Linked DNA regions of Homo sapiens: all the other regions are linked to region 1. The links are contacts of gene promoters, found by promoter capture Hi-C in blood cells and fetal thymus (Javierre and others, 2016). All regions are on one chromosome and are shown on one strand. The core of a region is centred on a gene start or on the middle of the fragment in contact, and the rest is flanking DNA. Distances in the headings are between cores, read along the strand shown. Region 1 holds the start of PNOC (prepronociceptin). Region 2 overlaps NUGGC (nuclear GTPase, germinal center associated). Region 3 overlaps NUGGC (nuclear GTPase, germinal center associated). Region 4 overlaps SCARA5 (scavenger receptor class A member 5). Region 5 overlaps SCARA5 (scavenger receptor class A member 5). Region 6 overlaps SCARA5 (scavenger receptor class A member 5).

Evidence for each region. Contacts are between HindIII fragments. The CHiCAGO score rates a contact against its expected background, and 5 or more counts as called.
Region 2: a fragment that was not itself captured here is called in contact with the fragment with the promoter of PNOC in region 1 in 11 of 17 cell types (M0 macrophages, endothelial precursors, M1 macrophages and 8 more); the score reaches 10.9 in M0 macrophages.
Region 3: a fragment that was not itself captured here is called in contact with the fragment with the promoter of PNOC in region 1 in 6 of 17 cell types (M0 macrophages, endothelial precursors, M1 macrophages and 3 more); the score reaches 7.3 in M0 macrophages.
Region 4: a fragment that was not itself captured here is called in contact with the fragment with the promoter of PNOC in region 1 in 4 of 17 cell types (erythroblasts, M1 macrophages, M2 macrophages and 1 more); the score reaches 6.7 in erythroblasts.
Region 5: a fragment that was not itself captured here is called in contact with the fragment with the promoter of PNOC in region 1 in 2 of 17 cell types (M2 macrophages and M1 macrophages); the score reaches 5.5 in M2 macrophages.
Region 6: a contact is called between a fragment that was not itself captured here and the fragment with the promoter of PNOC in region 1, in 1 of 17 cell types (M1 macrophages). The highest score is 5.4, in M1 macrophages.

The regions. Positions count from the first base shown.
Region 1 is chr8:28,315,273-28,318,530 of GRCh38, forward strand. PNOC (prepronociceptin) reads left to right here and starts at 1,996. Exons shown (of 4, transcript NM_006228.5): 1 at 1,996-2,044. RefSeq lists an enhancer at 2,989-3,258. The HindIII fragment of the contact is 2,214 bases long and covers 1,123-3,258 here.
Region 2 is chr8:28,039,440-28,042,483 of GRCh38, forward strand. NUGGC (nuclear GTPase, germinal center associated) reads right to left here. Exons shown (of 19, transcript NM_001010906.2): 13 at 1,612-1,776. Among named protein-coding and RNA genes, the nearest start is that of NUGGC, 43 kb to the right of the region's middle. The HindIII fragment of the contact is 285 bases long and covers 1,552-1,836 here.
Region 3 is chr8:28,023,133-28,026,030 of GRCh38, forward strand. It overlaps NUGGC (nuclear GTPase, germinal center associated), which reads right to left. Exons shown (of 19, transcript NM_001010906.2): 19 at 1-330. The coding sequence ends at 185. Among named protein-coding and RNA genes, the nearest start is that of SCARA5, 32 kb to the left of the region's middle. The HindIII fragment of the contact is 1,845 bases long and covers 493-2,337 here.
Region 4 is chr8:27,875,332-27,878,329 of GRCh38, forward strand. All of the region lies in intron 8 of SCARA5 (scavenger receptor class A member 5), which reads right to left. Among named protein-coding and RNA genes, the nearest start is that of MIR4287, 9.3 kb to the right of the region's middle. RefSeq lists an enhancer at 2,293-2,794. The HindIII fragment of the contact is 1,143 bases long and covers 904-2,046 here.
Region 5 is chr8:27,912,931-27,916,148 of GRCh38, forward strand. The region is part of intron 4 of SCARA5 (scavenger receptor class A member 5); the gene reads right to left. Among named protein-coding and RNA genes, the nearest start is that of MIR4287, 28 kb to the left of the region's middle. The HindIII fragment of the contact is 4,483 bases long and covers 1-3,218 here.
Region 6 is chr8:27,943,161-27,946,030 of GRCh38, forward strand. The region is part of intron 3 of SCARA5 (scavenger receptor class A member 5); the gene reads right to left. Among named protein-coding and RNA genes, the nearest start is that of SCARA5, 48 kb to the right of the region's middle. The HindIII fragment of the contact is 2,547 bases long and covers 120-2,666 here.

The DNA.
Region 1 (3,258 bases), core at 746-3,245:
CCAGCTACTCAGGAGGCTGAGGCAGGAGAATGGCATGAACCTGGGAGGCAGAGCTTGCAGTGAGCTGAGTTGGCGCCACTGCACTCCAGCCTGGGCGACAGAGCAAGACTCCGTCTAAAAAAAAAAAAAAAAAAGCTTTCCTGGAAACCCCACCCAAGGACCTGCAGCTTAATGCTCATTGGCAACCCTTGGTCAATGGGAAATGTAGTCTTTTAGCTAAGTGCATTGATGCCTGGAATAAAATCAAGGGTACCGTTTAGTAAGGAAGAACAGGGAAATGGGGATTGGGTAGGCAGCCTGCAATATCTGCCACATCATGTATGAAATCAGGTTCCAGGCCTGAGACACTGAAGTACATCAGGATGCAAAAGTGACCCCGTGTCAGTCAGTGAACATGCTGGTTTCCCAAAGAGTCCAAAATGGTAGCTGCGACCTGCAGTGTAAGGTTTGGGCAACAGAGATCTAAGTGAAGAATCATGAGTATGCTGGTCTCCTGAGCCCTTTTGCTGTGAACACAGACGGAAGGGAAATTTTATTCTCAGAACCTGTTGCTCTTAACCTGAGCAGATGTTTGCTGTCTTTTTCCTATTTTCTTTTTATGGAGATGTAATTCCCATAACATAAAATGCACCATTTTAAAGCATACAATTTGGTGGGTTTTAGTATTCTTGCTATGTTGTGCAACCATCACCTCAGTCTAAATCCAGAACATTTCCATTACCCCAAAAAGAAACCCTATACCATTTGCAGTCAGGGCAGATGCTTCCCTCAATCCTTCTCCACCCAGTCCTGGGTAGACCAGAGAGCTGGACTTAACCACATGAATGAGTGCTTGAGCTCCTTGGATGACATAGGTTCAAACCCTGGGATTCTGGAATATTTTAGACCCTCTTAGGAAAACCAAGGACAGGGTCATGGTGAAATTCACCTAAGGTAAGGAAACGTGGGGTCCACAAGGATGCTAAACCCTCAAGCCTGTGCCTTCAGCCTGTGAGCTCCTTTCCTGCAGCCCACAACCCCCGGCGGCTGTAGAAGACAAAGAGGCTCTGCAGTAAGGGACAGGGAAGCTTCCAGAGCTTCTGAGCCTCCAGGGCCCTCGGTAGTGATGCCCTAAGTTGCAGAAGCTTTAAAAGCTCTCTGTTGTGACACCAGACACTGATATGGGATTTCTACATCCAGGTGGTACTAATCAGTGTGAAAAGCGGGCTGAGAGGAGAGGGAGGATGCAGCACATTCATTAAGGGCCTCGTGTGTTGTAGATTCAAACAGAATCTCCTTTTTCTACTCACAACCATCCTGGGCAGTATTAGACTCATTTTCCGGAAGGAGGACTTGAGGTTCACAAAGAGATGTGCCTTGCTCTGACTGTACAGCCGAATTTCAGACACTTCCATCTGAGCCTCGAGTCTCAGCATTCTCCATTGCACCATGCTGTGGGCACCTGTGGAAATGCCTCCTGACCTGGCCCAGGGCAGGTGCAGCCACCTCTTGAGTGGCCTAGTTAGGGGCAATGACATTAGGTCAGGGCTTGGCTTAGCTCAGCCCTGGGCTCCTCCGAGTCGGTAGGAGCTTGGCATGAGCTCCCCTCCCTTCTGCCTGCCTCCTATTCTTCACTCCTCAGGCAAAAAGGTTGCTCAAGGAGACTCCAGGATTTGGGGTCTGCCTCGTCACTGTCACCAGGAGGCTTTTTTTCTGACTTGCCAGAGCTCCCCATCAGTCCTCACAGAGCCTCTGGAAGCACAGGGAAGGCAGCTGTGGGATCCTGGCTGAACAGAGTCCAGGTGAAGCAGGCTTGAGAATGGATTGATGGGGAGGTGGGGATGTCACAGGTCTGATGGCAGAGCCGGGGGAAGGGAACAGCCAGGAAGGCTTGCAGGTTCTGCTGTTTGGTTGCTGAAGGGGGTCAGTGTGTGTATGTGTCATGGAGGTGGGCAGGGAAGGGGAGGGCTGTGCGTGGGGGAGAGGATATATATGCTGGTGTGGCTGAGAAAGCGGAACCGAGCCTCGCATCCATCGGAGGGAGCCGGGGACTGACAGCTCTCAGGTAGGCAACTGCACGGGGCCCCCAGCCCGACCGCGACTAACTGGACTAACTGCGTGGAGCTCCGGGAGGGCAGGGCCACCAGGGGCTGGCTCCTCGGCCTCTCTCCTTTGTCCAGTGTGGATGCTGCTGGCCTCTTGCGAGATGGTTTCTTCATTCATCTCCTTTGTAGCGCTTGGATGGTGGGGAACGGGGGAGGGCTGAGTCTCTTTTTTAACCTCAGACAGACGCAGAAGCAGAAAGAGGGGAACTTGGAAATGAGGAAAAGTTTTGCTTCCCCAGCTGTGGCCCCTACGTGGTTGTTGCTCTGTGTCGAGAGGAGGCTGCTGGAGGAGTGAGGCCAGAGGAGGGGCAGGCACTTGGGAGGGGGTTTGCCTTCCACGGGGCGGCCCCCAGGAAGACCCTGGCCCCCTCATGAGGGTTTCCTCTCAGTGGCTTCCTTTCCTCTCAGATGCGGTGCGCAGGCTGCTTCTCCGCCTATCACTGAACTTGATGCCATCCAGATGGGAGTTTTTAATCCGGAGGGAGCCCTTCTCCCTTCTGCCCCCAGCAGAAATTGCTACAAATAATGGGGAAGCGCCAGATCTGGGGAGTGTGCTTCACCTGTATACACACACTGCTGAGCGCCACGGCGTGTGAATTCCAGAGAGCATTTCTACGGGCGTGACCTTGGTCTCCCAGAACCCGATTCATTTAGAGGGCTCTTCTCTTGCTTGGCATCCCTCTCCCCCTGCCCATCTCCCCCACCTAAAGGTCTTTGCCCAGGTCATGCAGAATACTCCGTTCATAGTCACCGCATCCCAACTCTCGAGGCTCTCTCAGCCACCTTCTTTCTTCCTCCTCTCTTTGTGCATCTCTCTCCCTCGAGTCTTGCTTCCCCGGCTTCACTACCCAGCCCCTCCTCCCCGAATCTCGCTCTGAACATGGGCAAGTTCTGGGGGAATTTCAAGTAAGGCAGGATGATTCGGGAAATGGACTATTTAAAGCAAGCTGCTTTGGACTTGAATACCCCCATCCTGCGCTTAAACATCTGTGTTTAGCTTCCTCAAGCAGCCCATAATTGCCCCAATTATAACCAATAACATTGTTCGGCAGACTAACAAAAGATGAGCTTTGCACGGCATTCGCCAGCAAGCCCAAACCAGAGTTTTCAACATAGATGGGAAAAGTAACTGCCTGGCTTCTTATCAAAACCTCCCAAAGCAAATACTGCTCTT
Region 2 (3,044 bases), core at 444-2,943, 280 kb before region 1:
CAGGCTGGTCTCAAACTCCTGACCTCAGGTGATCCATCCACCTCAGCCTCCCAAAGTGCTGGGAATACAGGCACAAGCCACCACACTCAGGCTCATCTAGACATTTAAACAAGCTTTTACACAAAGCACACAGATAACAACACCCAGAAGAGGCCAGGTGCTAGAAAGCCGGTATCATCGGTGCACATAGAAAAGCCTCCAGGAAGCCAACCACCCCATCACACTCACCTTTTCACACATTTTCCACTGCTCACATTCCAACTTTCCAAGGCCCACTAAAAACTACAACCACAGACCATCCATGCACTTCTCCCAGCACGGGGGGACACCAAGTCATACAGTGTTGTCCATCACATCTTCCCCTTAATGGGTGCTATGGACTAAAGTGTGACCCTTGAGGTTCACATGCGAAGCCCTAACCACCAGGGTGACTGTGTTTGGAGACACAGCTGGTAAGGAGGTAATTAAGGTTAAATGGGGTCATAAGGGTGGGGCCCTGATCTGACAGGTGTGGTGTCCTTCTGGGAAGAGAAAGAGATCCCAGGAGTGTGCGTGCTCAGTGAAGAGGCCACGTGAGGATGCAGCAAAAATGTGGCCATCTACCTTCTCCAGAAGAGGAGAGAGGCCTCAGAACTCACCCTGCTGACACCTTGATCTTGGACTTTCAGCCTTCAGAACTATGGGAAAATCGATGTCTGTGGTTCAGGCCACCCAGTCTATAGGATTTTGTTATGGCAGCCCAAGCAGACTAATACAATAGGCCTCTTTTTTCACCCCTTAGTCTTAGATAAATACTGCCTTACACTTACATTTTCATCCTTCAGAAACTCTATACAACTAATTAAGAAATAAAACCACAACTTGTATGCCAATTGAGAGGTTACAAGATGTTTCCTCATTGTGTAAGCTCATTGATACTGATATCAACACTACCAGATAGGTAGGGCAAGCATTGAGCATCCTCATTTTATAGTAGAAAACCAATAAATTTTTAAAAAATGGGTCTAGGGCTTTGCCCGGGGCTACAAGGTGGATGTTTGGTGGAGCTGGTACTCCAACCAAGACCCTCAGATCCCAGATTCCCACTCTGTCTTTGCTGAACTGTGTACCTTCCTTGGTCCTTTCAAGACACAGATGAACAACTGTTATGTGCAATTTTCACTCTCTCCTAACCTCCTCTGGCTCTTTTTTTTTGTTTTTTGTTTTTTGTTCTTGTTTTTTTTTTTGAGATGGAGTCTCACTCTCTCGCCAGGCTGGAGTGCAGTAGTGCAGTCTCGGCTCACTGCAATCTCCGCCTCCCTGGTTCAAGCAATTCTCCTGCCTCAGCCTCCTGAGCAGCTGGGATGACAGGCACACGCCACCACACCTGGCTAATTTTTGTATTTTTAGTAGAGACGGGGTTTCACCATGTTGGCCAGGATGGTCTTGATCTCCTGACCTTGTGATCCGCCCACCTCGGCCTCCCAAAGTGCTGGGATTACAGGCATGAGCCGCCATGCCCGGCCCGCTAACTCTTTACCTCTTTTGAAGGGAATGGGATGATGCAAAAGAAGCTTGGGGATCGGGCAGGCCTCCTGGAATATCTGAGTTTTCCCTGGAAGGGTCACTCACCACCAAGCATGCTCTGAGGATGCAGCGGTAAGAAGTCCTGGCGGTCCTGACCCCTTCTTGCAGAGGCTGCTCCATGCAGGCGAAGCACTGTGCGATGGCCTTCTCCAGCAGCTCAACCTTCTCTTCCGCAAATCTCCGCAGGACACTCATGTGCAAGTGTTCATTCTAGGGACAAGGACCATAAAAGAATCAGGCCACCCCCTCCCTAAGGGCACCTTCTCCTGAAGCTTTGCTTTCTTTAAGCTTGTCACCAGCTCAAGATTCAGCTTATCACTCAGAGCTGACTTCTCTTTATTGTCCCCATAAGACCTCACTCAGTGCACAGACCCCTTTAGGCTTTGTGGGGTTAGAGAATAGAACAAATACCTGCCTGGTGCAACTTATTTCATTTCTTAAAAATCACAGTCTCTGCTTATTCAGCAACTTATTTCAGCTGTGTAATCCATCAGGTTATTTGGGGAAGTAGCTATCCACATAGAAATCCAATTGTTATTAAAACAGATTTTTCCAATGACATCTGATTCAACAAACATTTCACGGGCTTGGACTCTGCACGAAGGAGTTTTTAAGGATAATGCTTCTTAAATTTTAACATGCATACAAATCAACAGGAGATCTTAAAATCTGAAATCCAAGGTCCTGGGATTCTGCATTTCTAGCCAGTCCTCAAGTAATGCTGGTCTTCCGAGCTATGGACCACACTTTGCATAGCAAAGCTACAGGACCACAAAAATAAATCCATGCTTCCTTCTTCAAAGAATACAGTCTAATCAGGGAGAAAACATATATTCAAATAATACAAGGAAGTGACCACCAGAGAAAGCCTTGACCCCTAGGTGCCTGATATGGTTTGCTGTGTACCCACCCAAATATCATTTTGAATTGTAGCTCCCATAATTCCACGTGTTGTGGGGGGGACCTGGTGGGAGATAATTGAATCATGGGATTGGCTTTCCCCATACTGTTCTCATGGTAGTGAATGAGTCTCATGAGATCTGATGGTTTTATAAGGAGAAACCTTATAAAACCTTATAAAACATGCCACCATGTAAGACATGCCTTTTGCCCACAATGATTGTGAGGCCTCCCCAGGCACATGGAACTGTGAGTCCATTAAACCTCATTTTCTCTATAAATTACCCAGTCTCGGGTATGTCTTTATCAGCAGCATGAAAATGGACTAATACAGTTCCAGACTGGGAACTCATAGTGTTGTTCCCCACATGGGAACCTTGGTGGGCCCCACAGTGCCTGCAGCAGTCAGAGCCACACTCCCCAGCTTGGCCTTTAAGGCACCTCATAGCCAGAACTCACTCCACCTCTCTAGCACCACCATCTCTGTTTGCCTGACACATCCTGCCAAGTAGCTACCCCTGGACTTGCTGCTATTCCCCAAACATGCTGTCAATCTTGTGCCCTCTGGGCCTTGCTGA
Region 3 (2,898 bases), core at 165-2,664, 290 kb before region 1:
GAGGCTGAGGCTGGAGGATCGCTTGAGCCTAGGAGTTCGAGGCTGCAGTGAGCTGTGATGGTGCCACTGCACTCCAGCCTGGGCAACAGAGGTAGATAGATCTTGTCTCTTAAGAACAAAAAAAGTAATTCTAATTCTCTGGCTCTGGGCTGATTTTTCATCCATTGGGACTAAGCCCCAGGAGTTACAGTGATGTCCCGGGGGGGCCAGCCTTGCTGGGGGATGCCCTTAGGAGGAATTCTTGCATGCCCTTCCTCAGCCGTGCATTCTCCGCGACCTCCCTCAGGCTTCTGTGCAGCTTCTCCATCTCCTTGTATTCACTCCCGACATCTACAGGAGAGCAGAAAGCTCACATCAGGACTTGGTGTCCGTTGCAGAAACGTCTCCAGAAAGCAAATCCCCCAACAATCCTGTCACTTGTCCCAGAATATGAGATCTGGAGTGGTGCTTACAGATCAGACATCAAAGCAGGTGTTCCTCCTCTTACCAGAAAGCTTTCTCAGCATGGGGTCACCCTCAAAAGAAACCCAAACCTACCCATAAGAAAAACCCTGAGAAGTCACTGGGTCTGTATTAAGGCTTCACAGGTGTGTGATATACAAAGCATGTTGCACAATAACACCTCCTCTAATTCCTCTCCAGGCGGCTCCCCCTCTTCCCCCCACCCCAATCCCTATCCTCCCAGCACAACCCATTCTCAGTGAATGTTCTCTTTCTGGCATCTCAGGTTTTAATCCCATGATCTGTAATCAAACCATGTTCTCACAATGGTTAGTTTTATGTGTCAACTTGTTTAGGTCACAGGGCCCAGAAACCGGATTAAACGTGAGTCTGGATGCCTCTGGGAGGGTGTTTTTGGATGAGATTCACATTTAACAGGGATGCTCCAGTGACAGCCTTGGGCCTTTGACATGGAGTTTTGCTCTTGTCACCAAGTCTGCAGTACAATGGCATGATCTTGACTCACTGCAACCTCTGCCTCCCAGGCTCAAGTGCTTCTGCCTCAGACACCCAACTAGCTGGGATTACAGGCACCCACCACCTCGCCTAGCTAAATTCTTTCTTTTTTTTTTTTTTTTTTTTTGTATTTTTAGTAGAGACAGGGTTTCACCACGTTGGCCAGGCTGGTCTCGAACTCTTGACCTCAGTTGATACACCCGCCTCGGCCTCCCAAAGTGTTGGGATTACAGGCATGAGCCACCGTGCCCGGCCAAGCCTTGGTTGGGCCTTTGTCTGCAACATCGACTCTGCCTGGTTCTGCAGGGATGGCCTCTGGACTCGAACTGCCTCTCTTTCTGGAGTCTCTGTCCTGTGGGCCTCCCTGCATCAGATTTTGGGCTCACCAAGCCTCCACCATCGTGTGGGCCAACTTCTTAAAATAAATCTCTTCCTCTATCTATCCACACATCCTACTGGTTCTGTTTATCTGGAGGACGCTGACTAATTGCAGTCCCCTTTGAAGGGACACTTCAGACTGAGCCCTGAATGCCTTTCTAATCCCCCTTGGCTTTCTGTGCCCGAGGGTGACTCAGGTTAGTTGGCCCTGAGCCTGGCCAGGGATGGGACTCATGAGCAGAGGGGAGTTAGGACCCGGAGTCTTTTTGTTCTGTCCCATATCTGGAAGGCCTCCCTTCTCCCCACTGCCTCTGAAATCAACCTAACCTTTGAGGCTTCCCCCAGGACCCAGCTTCAGTGACGCTTCCCCGCGTCCCAGCCCTGAATAACCACTCTGTCTCTGAACTTCAAGAATAACGATCTGAAGTCTGAGTGGGTTCCCTCCCTCAGGGCTTTGCTTAAGTGTCACATTCCCAGGGAGACCTTCCTTTACCACCCTGTCCCACCACCCTGTCCCGTACCTCAGCATCCCTTCTTCCCTTTCTGTGTTTCGCTTCCCTGCCACATATTTCACTTATTAGTTTGCTGACTGCCTGCCTTCCACCCACTGGGCTGTGAGCTCCATGAAGGTGGGGACTCTTGCCTGTATTGGCCACCACTGTGTCCTCAGCACCCAGAACACTGCCTGGCACCCAGGACGTGATCAGAATCGCTTGCTGAGTGAATGTAAACTCCCCAGTCTTACAACGCACATTCTTACACATCTTGTCTTACCAACCAGGTAAGGCCCTGACAACAGGGACTGCCTTTTAGATTTCTTTATAAAGTATGACCCCCTGACATGATGTATATTTGCTGTCGATGGTGAAGAGAAGGAAATAGGCTTAAATTATAGCAGTTGCACTTGACATCAAACTGAGGGGAGCACCATCTGTCAAGTGCACCTGCTATAATTCTTGAAGTTCAGAGACAGAGTGGTTATTCAGGGCTGGGATGCGGGGAAGCTTCACTGAAGCTGGTCAAGATCTCTGGCAAGCGGGAGTTCTTTAAAGCAGGCACATTGGAATGACTATCATCTTAAAACTTAGATTCCTATAAAGGCCTGGACAGAAGGTCATGAGAGTCCAGTACATTATAGTGTGAGGGTGTTGTATCTCCTTCCCTGGAGTCCGTTAGATCAGGTTAGAGGTCCATCTAACCAGCCATAAATGGGTCATAAAGATTCCCAGAGAGATGGAGAAGTGCAGAACGGATTGTTAGAAGCAGCCATTGTGGCTTTGACTTTGGGAACAGCTCTGTCTACTTTCACCCTGGCAAACTCAAATGGCATCAGATCTGTTCATTGCAGCAGGCAACTATGGATGTGGTATAAAATATAAAAGGCACAAAATATACAGGGTGCAGAGCAAGGCTCCCACCCTCTCCTACCCTCCAGCCTTCCAGTTCCCCTCCTTAGAGGCAACGAGTACTGCCAGTGTTCTATGTAGCCCATGGAGATTTTTATGCACATACAAACATATACATATGTATTTCCTTTTTTCCCCTCTCACAAATGGCAACATA
Region 4 (2,998 bases), core at 225-2,724, 440 kb before region 1:
GGTGAAGCCCTCAAGATGTTTCCATGTATCGCAGGGATCAGGAGAGTATAAGAAGTGCTGTGATAGAGAAGAATGTGACGGGATCATAGAGGAGGGTTATTTCCATCTTAGGGGTGAGGGAGCATGGAAGGAGCCAGAAAAGCTTCCCTCAGGAAAGATCATTGAGCTGCCTTTAAAAGCTGAGTAGGAATTCCCTAGCTGAAGAGGGAGGGAAAAGCCTTCCAGCAGGAGGAGCAGCACAGGAGAAGAGGTGGGACATGAAACACACCATCTGTGCCCCGAGAACCACCAGCAGGTGCAGTGTGGAGAGGTGTGGGGTGGGCAGGAGGCCAACTAAGAAGATCCTTGGGTGCTGAGCTAAGGAAATCCAGCTTGATTCTGAGAGCGATAAAAATCCTCTGAGGACCCAGGCAGGGAGTGAGGTGACCAGGCACTCGTTTTAGAAAGATCCCTAACAGTTTGAGACCAGCCTGGGCAACATAGCAAGACCCTATTTCTCCAAAATAATAAAATGAAATAATTAGCTTGGCATAGTAGCATGTGCCTGTGGTCCCAGCTACTCAGGAGGCTGAGGCAGGAGGATTGCTTGAGCCTGGGAGGTCGAGGCTGCAGCAAGCTATGATTGCACCACTGCACTCCATGGGTGACAGAGGGAGACCTCATCTCTTAAAAAGAGAAAAAAAGAAAGATCCCCAGCAGCCATGAGAAGGAAGGCCACAGGAGCTAGCCTGCAGGTGTGGTGGCCGTGAGGAGTGACTCCTGGAGGATTAGAGCCTCTACTGTCCCCACCTCCACCCCACACTTGTAGATAAGCGTGCACAACAGAGCCTGTGCATGCTAACTGCTTGACACCCAAGATCTCCTTTAGCATTTATAGTAATTCTTCAATAGCGGAAGAACTGAAGCTTAGAGAGGGTAGGGAATCTAGTCAAGGTCTCCAGCTGCAAGTGGCAGATCCGGGATTCTGACATGGGTGGTTTGACTCCAGGGCTGGGGCACTAACCACTGCTCTACCTGCTAATCTCCTAAGGGGAGGACAGCAAGAACGACGAGGTGGGGACAGGTTCAAGGAATGCCAGAGGAGTGAACACTGGTGGGATCTGCAGGACTCGGGGACCAACCTGATGTGGGGAGGGGGAGTGGTGACAGGGAAGAGGTGGCCCAGGGTTCTGGCTGGGATGGGGTCTGACTGGTAGGACGGTTCTGGTGATGGCAATGAGAGAGGCACAGGATCTGGTGGGAAGGATATGTGTGCAATTGTGACAGCTGCCATTGGAGAAGCCCATGGGGCATCCGAGTGCACCTGTCAGGAAGGTCACCGGACACTTGGGTCTGGAGCTCCACTGAGCACTGTGACAGAGGGAAGAGCTGGGGGTGACTGAAGCCCCAGGTGTGGAGGCAGCCTCCAGAGAGAGTGTGCAGAACACAAGGACAGCAGAGGCGGGGTGTTGGGGGTGCTAGGGAGAGGAAACTGTCAGGAAGGAAGAGGGTGAGAAGAAGGCTAGGAGGCAGAGCGAGAGGGACCTGGGAGGCTCCTTCAGGCTCAACAGCAGACGAGCTGGGAGTGGGGTTGGGGCACCAGTGGGTAGGATGCTGGCAGGGTGGCTCTGCCTGCCGCCAGGAATGACAGCTTTCCCTCCTCTCGGCCCCATGACTACAACAGCATTAAAACCCTTGGCACATGGTTTAGAATCCTCCTCTACATTGCCCATGCTGTGGCCAGGGCTGGGCTTGGTCAGCTCTGCCCCCCAGCCCTGCAGCTAGCCTGGCCCATGCTAGGTGCCTGGAAACTGCTTGTAGAGAGGAGGAGAACATGGGTGCAGCCTGGGCTGGCAGAAAGCCTCAGTTATGCCAGCCCTTCCCTGCCCAGGCCCCTACAGCCCTCTGTATACTGCTAGTGACACCTGGCCTGCAACCAGCCAAGGTCTTGAATAGCACCTGAGACCTGTTAGGGCACCATGATAGGGAAATAATGGGGCAAAAAAATAGGGCATTCGTGAAAGCAAGTCCAGCTTCCTATCGACCAGTTTAAAGAATCAAGTGACAAGCTTAGAGCTTCCCTGTGTCAAGAGGAACAGATCAGGGGAGTGAAAGAAGCCACAGTCTACAGGATCGCTGGCCTGGCACTCGAAGCCCACCCACTGCCTTTTCACCAACTGGCAGAGTCAGGCTAACATGACCTGTGATCTTCAAACTACCTATTCTGGCTTCTTGAAAATAATTTATAATTTTTTTTCTCAAAAGGTTTTACTGCCACTTATTAGGAAGAAGCCTTCTTCGGAGCTAGAAATGGGAATTTGAGGACTGTTCCTATTCTAATCAACAACAACGGTGGTTTTCCTTAGTCAAAACCAGCTGGAATCCAGCCCCAAGCCTTAGGTGGGAGAACAGTATTCTTTCCTGGTAGGCTGCCCTTCATGGTGCCGGATCCCTTCGAACTCGCCCCTCAAACTCTGGCCCTTAAGACGGCACTCCCTGCCAGCTGGCTCGACAGATTTCACCAAGGGTCACTTTCAGTCAATTACCAATGAGATCTATGGGATGAGATTCAGACCAAGAACTGCAGCAGCCCCTTATGGGGATGAAGAGGAAGGCGGCTGGGAGGAGTGGAGGCTTCCACCTCCAGTCTGGATGTGACCTGGCTCCGAGTCCCCATCTGGAAGGGACATGCCACTTTCTCCCCTCACCCTGTAGCCATTTAGCACAGTGGGTTGGACAGCAATGACCTCAGGCAAGACAGCAGGTACGCCCGGCTCCACTCCATGATGTGGGGAACCCTGCCGTCAGTGGGCTGCCATCCACAGGTCACCAGGGGGCCTGGTAACTGGGTGTGAGAGGATCAGCCCCAATCCCTCCCCACACCCACCTGGTCTTCTCCACAGGTGAGCAGTGGCATCTTAAATCCCAGGGGGCCCAGGCTGGGAGACCCATTATGCAGCCTGCAGGCCCTTTAGTTACAGACAGGACACCAAGACCCAGAATGCAGAAGCAACAGGGC
Region 5 (3,218 bases), core at 176-2,675, 400 kb before region 1:
AGTGAGGACTGAGTGGATTCAGTGGCATGATGACTAGAGAAGGGCTTCAAAGCCTTGAGTGAGGGGGGCCATCCCGATCACCTCACTCTGCATAACGCCTCCTCACTTTGCATAACACCTCCTCAGAACCATTATAGGATGACAACTTCCGGGTATTCCAAGCGCACCTGAAATCACCCTGTGGAGTTTGGCTGGGTCATCCAAGGAGAGGCAGGGCTCAAGAACATGCTACAGATGGATTTTGTTTTAAACATAACTATGTGGTTATGAAGGTCTTTACTGGAGATTAACTGGGAAGAAGGTGGGGTGGGCAGTAAAGGTGGGCACCAATTCCCAAGCCTTCATCACATCCTCAGGTGGTACAGGCCTGGCTGACTCAGAAGGGCTGATGATTTGGCCAGAGCCTCGAGGGGCCGAGCTGCCAGGGGCTCCGAGGACCAAGTGATCTTTAAATCACTGATGCTGCCTGTAGGTGAAGCAATCTCAGGATTTGACTTTTTAGTGTGTTTACTGACACTATCCTTTCTTCAGAAACCCAAGCTGGAAATCTTGAGCCTGCTCTGATTCTTCTTTCCTGTCCCCCTTTTGCATCCCTTTCCAGCTACATGCATCTGTGATTCGAGGCTTCTCATAAAGGAAGGTCCTTCTCATGTCTCCACCTCCTTCCTCACTGCCTCCACCCTCGTCAGGTCCTTATGGCCTGGCTCTGGCCTTTATAAGAACCTCCCTGTCTCCGTCTCTCTCCAGCCCATGTGTGCCTTGCTGTCTGATCCATCTCTCTGAAACAACAAAGCAACCAAAGGGACTCAGAGCACGGGAAGGCCCCTCACTGCACCACAGGTGCAGCTTCCCCTGTCAAGGCCCCTGCAGATCACTCACGATCTGACCCCTTCTGCTGCAAACTTACAGCTCGGTGCTCATGGTCACCAACTTTCCTCCACCTCTGCACAAACGCTCTCCTCATAGTGTCCCTGAACATTAGCCAAATCCTAAGAGTCCAGTCCCTCTTAGTCCTGAGACTGCCTTCATGCCCACTGATTTGGTTTGGCTGTGTCCCCACCCAAATCTCATCTTGAACTGTAGCTCCCATAATTCCCATGTGTTGTGGGAGGGACTCAGTGGGAGGTAACTGAATCATGGGGGTGGGTCTTTCCCTTGCTGTTCTCGTGATAGTGAATAAGTCTCATGAGGTCTGATGGTTTTATAAAGGGGAGTTCTGCACACACTCTCTTGCCTGCTGCCATGTAAGATGTGCCTTTGCTCCTCCTTCACCTCCTGCCATGATTGTGAGGCCTCCTCAGCCATGTGGACTGTGAGTCCATTAAACCTCTTTTTCTTTATAAATTACCCAATCTCAGGTATGTCTTTATTAGCAGTGTGAGAACAGACGAATACACCCACCCTTCTGGTCTCTTAGTGTACCATGGGCAGAGCCCCCAAATCTCAGAGCTAGAAGGAGGTGGGGAGATCCTCGTGCACAATGCCCCTGTGGGAGCACCCGGAGCCTGGTCAGGTGACCTCTGCCCACTCCCTGGGCACTATCCCCCACCTCGAACTGTGGTTCCCAAGGAGGACAGAACCTTCTGTAGGGCACTGTCTGTGGCCTGTGCCTTGCACACACCCAGCAAACAATCAGGATCTGAAGAATGACTAACGTGTAGTAGCAGAAGTGCCATGACATCTGTTGTTCCAAGAGGTACCCAGGTTAGCTTTTTCACTTCTCAACTTTCTACACCATCTCATTTCTCATCTTTTCTGTCACCAAGGCAGGCCAGGGCATGGAGGTGGCTGGGACAAGGAGGAGCAGGGTCCTGGGGTCCCTGCTCAGGCTTTGTCCACTCATCTAGCCCACTCCCCTCATGCTCCCCTCAGTGCAGTTGCTCCCACCAGAAGCATCTTCCCAGTGGGACGAAGGGTCTGGGACCAGGCATTCAGGAGAAGCACCGGGGTTTTCCTGGGGATCAGCCAATGAGGGGAAACCCATGCCTTCTCCCTTCCCTGATCCCAGAACACATGACGGGGTAGGGGACCTGTGTGGGCTGGAATCCAGGAACTGATGTGCCAAGAGCAAATTATGAGGACAGCTGATGAGCCTGGCCTGGAGCCAGCAGTACAGTCAAAACCACCCCCAGAACCATGCTAACCACAGGCCGGCTGACAGGGTAGAGTGGCTCAGCAAACAGCTCCACTTCCAGTACCCTCAAGTCACCAGGGCCTGGATTCTGAGCCCCTATCACCTTTACAATTGTGAGGTCTCTTTTTTTCATCATTTAAGGCATCTCTCTGTGACCCTGAGAAGTGGACAAGGCAGGCACTGTCAGCCCCATTTCACAGCCGAGGAGACTCAGGCCCAGAAAGGTGCTGGGACTGCCCTTGCTACCGTCCTCCGAGCCCCCAATGGAGGGTGGTGGGCGGGGCTGGGGGCAACTCCACCCACTTCCCAGCAGAGTCCGTGTGGAAGGAGATATGAGAGCTTGGCTCACCATACAACGTCCCAGGGACCTCAGCCCAGGCCATGCTCCTCAGCCCTCAGTAGAACAGAAAGGCCACTTTACCTGTCACTCCACTCAGAGATGTTCCCCACTTTCAGCAGGTCCCTACTACCCAGAAACCAGAGTCCCAGCATTAGCCTGGAATCCAAAGCCCCACTCTGTGACGTCATCCCTTTATAAATATTTGCTGAACTGGACTCTCTAATAGATTGTGTTTTTTCTCACGAAATCAGCCCACAGACAAATCTGCTTTGCGAACTTGTTTTCATGAATCCAGAGATGTATTTTTTTTGTCCCAGCCAGGTCACTGGATGGTTTTGTGACTTCAGCCAATCATCTCCCCTCTCTGGCCTCAGGATCCTCAACTACAAAACAAAAAGAGTGGACTGGATGATTTCAGATGTATTGCCACTCCATCCAAATGCTGTGATTCCAGAAAACCTGCATCCTTGCCAAAGAGAGCCATCTGAATGTGACTTTGTTCAGGTTTCCCCTTCTGGGCTGCCTCCCCTCTCTGGTTACCTTTCCCCTCCTGGGCTGCCTCCCCTCTCTGGTTACCTTTCCCCTCCTGGGCTCCTTCTCCTCTGTGATGATCTAAGTTCTCTGCTTCTTTCAAACCCACAGGCAGATTTCAACAGACCTGATTAATGCTAAAAATCCAAAACAGAAAATAGAACCCCCACTGCAGATATTCACAAGAGAAAAACTGGAGACAAAGCTCATCAA
Region 6 (2,870 bases), core at 143-2,642, 370 kb before region 1:
ATCCTAACTAATGAGGGTACCCCACAAGATAGCCCTCTAAATATTTGAAGATGGATCCCCTTTCCTTAAGGTTTCCTTTGCCAACATGGCAAAACCCTGTCTCTACTAAAAATACAAAAAGCTTGTGTTTTTACAAACCAGGCATGGTGGTGTGAGCCTGTAGTCCTAGCTATTCCGGAGGCTGAGGTGGGAGGATCACCTGAGCCTGGGAAATGGAGGCTGCAGTGAGCACTGCACTCCAGCCTGGGTGACGGGAGTGAGACTCTGACTAAAAATAATTATAAAGTCCCTTTATTGCCAAAGTCATTCTTTCCTGAATGTGTTTTAGCTTAAATGCATCCAGCGGTATGCTGATAAATGTTTAACAACTGGTTCTCCAAGGGGTTGGGGAGAAGCCTAAGCTGTGGTGCTTGCCAATGTTTGAGGTGTAAATATCCCACTATGACCGACTTCAAGCTACCAACATGACATCATTGACTACGGAGTTAGGAAAAGACGCACGTAATCAGAGCTGACCAGCACACCACTGTCTGCAGCCACCTTACATTGCAGCGGTCAGAGAGGAAAACAGCAATGAAGAGGGTTAGAAAAGCCACATTTGATGACCACCTTTGTAATAACTGACTCGGGCAAGAATTGTAAGTGGATGCTAAAATCATGGAGTGAAGGATTGCTGGCAATCAGTGTATTTACACAGCCTCAGAGTGTCTCCCCACAGATCACTTCTTAATCAGAGGGAATAAAAGATAGCTTTACAGTAGATTATTCTGACCAAATTTACCTTAACCAAATTTACCATTACCAGTACAGGAACAAATTGACACAATCCACCTCCTCAAATGACTTAGAAAGTGTTACTGCCAAGAAGGTTTAACCTACGTCAATCATGGGAAAACAATTAAACAAACCCAAGTTAAAGGACAGGATAGCAAGCAACTGGCCTGCATTCTTTAAAATGTCCATGTCATGAAATACAGTGAAAGGCAAGGAACCCATCTAGAAAAGACTATGGAGCCATGAAAACCACATGTATATTCTGGATTGGATCCTGCATCAGGAGTTTTAAAAATGGTTATAAAGGACATTCTTGGAGCAACGGAAGAAAATTAAATATGGATATACTGTATTTATAATCAGCATTAGATTTCTTGAATTCAGTAATTGTATAGTGGTGATATAAGACAATGTCCTTGTTCTTGTAAATACACACTAACATATTTAGGGGTGAAGTTTGCAACTCACTGTCAAATGGTTCCACAAAAATTAAAAATGGTAATAACAAACGTGGGGCGAGAAGAGAGAGCAGGTACACGCAAATGGCATAAAATGTTAACAATATTAAAATGAAGGGTATATAGCACTCTTTATAGCTTCCAACTTCTCTGTAGGTTTAACATTTTTTAAAAAATAAAAAATTAAGACCAGGCATGGTGGCTCATGCCTGTAATCCTAGCACTTTGGGAGGCCAAGGTGGATGGATCACCTGAGGTCAGGAGTTTGAGACCAGCCTGGCCAACATGGTGAAACTCCATTTTGTAAAAATAGAAAAAAAAAAAAAAAGTAGCTGGGCATGGTGGCAGTTGCCTGCAATCCCAGATACTTGGGAGGCTGAGGTGGGAGAATCATTTGAACCTGGGAGGCAGAGGTTGCAGTGAGCCGAGATCACGCCACTGCACTCGTCTGGGCGACAGAGCGAGAGCCTGTCTCAAAAAAAAATAATTGAGGTCAGGCGCTGTGACTCATGCTTGTAATCCCAGTACTCTGGGAAACTGAGGCAGGTGGATGACTTGAACCCAGGAGCTCAAGACCAGCCTGGGCAACATGGCAAAACCATCTCTACTAAAAATACAAAAAATTAGCCAGGTGTGGTGGTATAGGCCTGTAGTGCCAGCTACTCAGGAGGCTGAGGTAGGAGGATCATCTGAGTTCAGGAAGAAGAGGCTGCAGTGAGCTGTGATTGTGCCCACTGCACTCCAGCCTGGGTGATGGGAATGAGACTGTAAAAAAATAATAATAAATTGAAAAAAAAAAAAGGAAACACTGAGGAGTTGTCTAACCTGCATGGAGCCAAATAATACTGGTGCCTCCCTTATTCTCTATGAACGTAACTTTGATCACGATAGCTTTTGGTGGCAGGCATGTCACACACTGACTCATAGACTGCATCCTGCCAAACTCAAACCCTCAACCTTGCTTTAAAAACTGATGTCAAGCCGTGGCTTCCCCATTTGTGGGGCACTACTTCATGTGTGTCCATATTAATTGACCAGGTCTAAGCTATCTCTCTGGGTTTCAGCCTTATTTTGGGTTCTGATTCCGCATTCCTTTAAATTGAGTGCTGATCTCTGTGAACCACAAAGACAACAAACATGTCATCCGGGATTTAACTACATAAAGATTTATGAAGCATACAGGTTGTGCAAAGCAGCAGGTTGGGTACAAAGAAATCAACAACAAGTAAATAAGATGTGAGTGTCAATCATAGCCTTCTGGAAGATAAGAACCAGGTCTTATACTTCCTTGGTCCCCCTATAGCACCCCATGGTAGTGAGTATGTATTAGACACTTTATAAATGCCTGATTTGACCTCACATAGTAACCAGGCAAAAGGCTTAAACAGCCAGTCTCCTTAAGAGATGACACAATGAATAATCAAATGTATGGAAAGCTTGATGAGATTATTAGCTATCAAAGAAATGCAAATTTTAAAAAAGGAAATCTCTAAAAGTAATGGAACAGTGCTACATCATGCTGGCAAGACCGTGGTGAACGCTAGTGTGTTTAAACATTGCTGATGACTGTGCAAATATTTTTGGAAGGCAATTTGGCAAAAAGTATCAATAGCCATAAAAATGTTCACATCCTTTGCA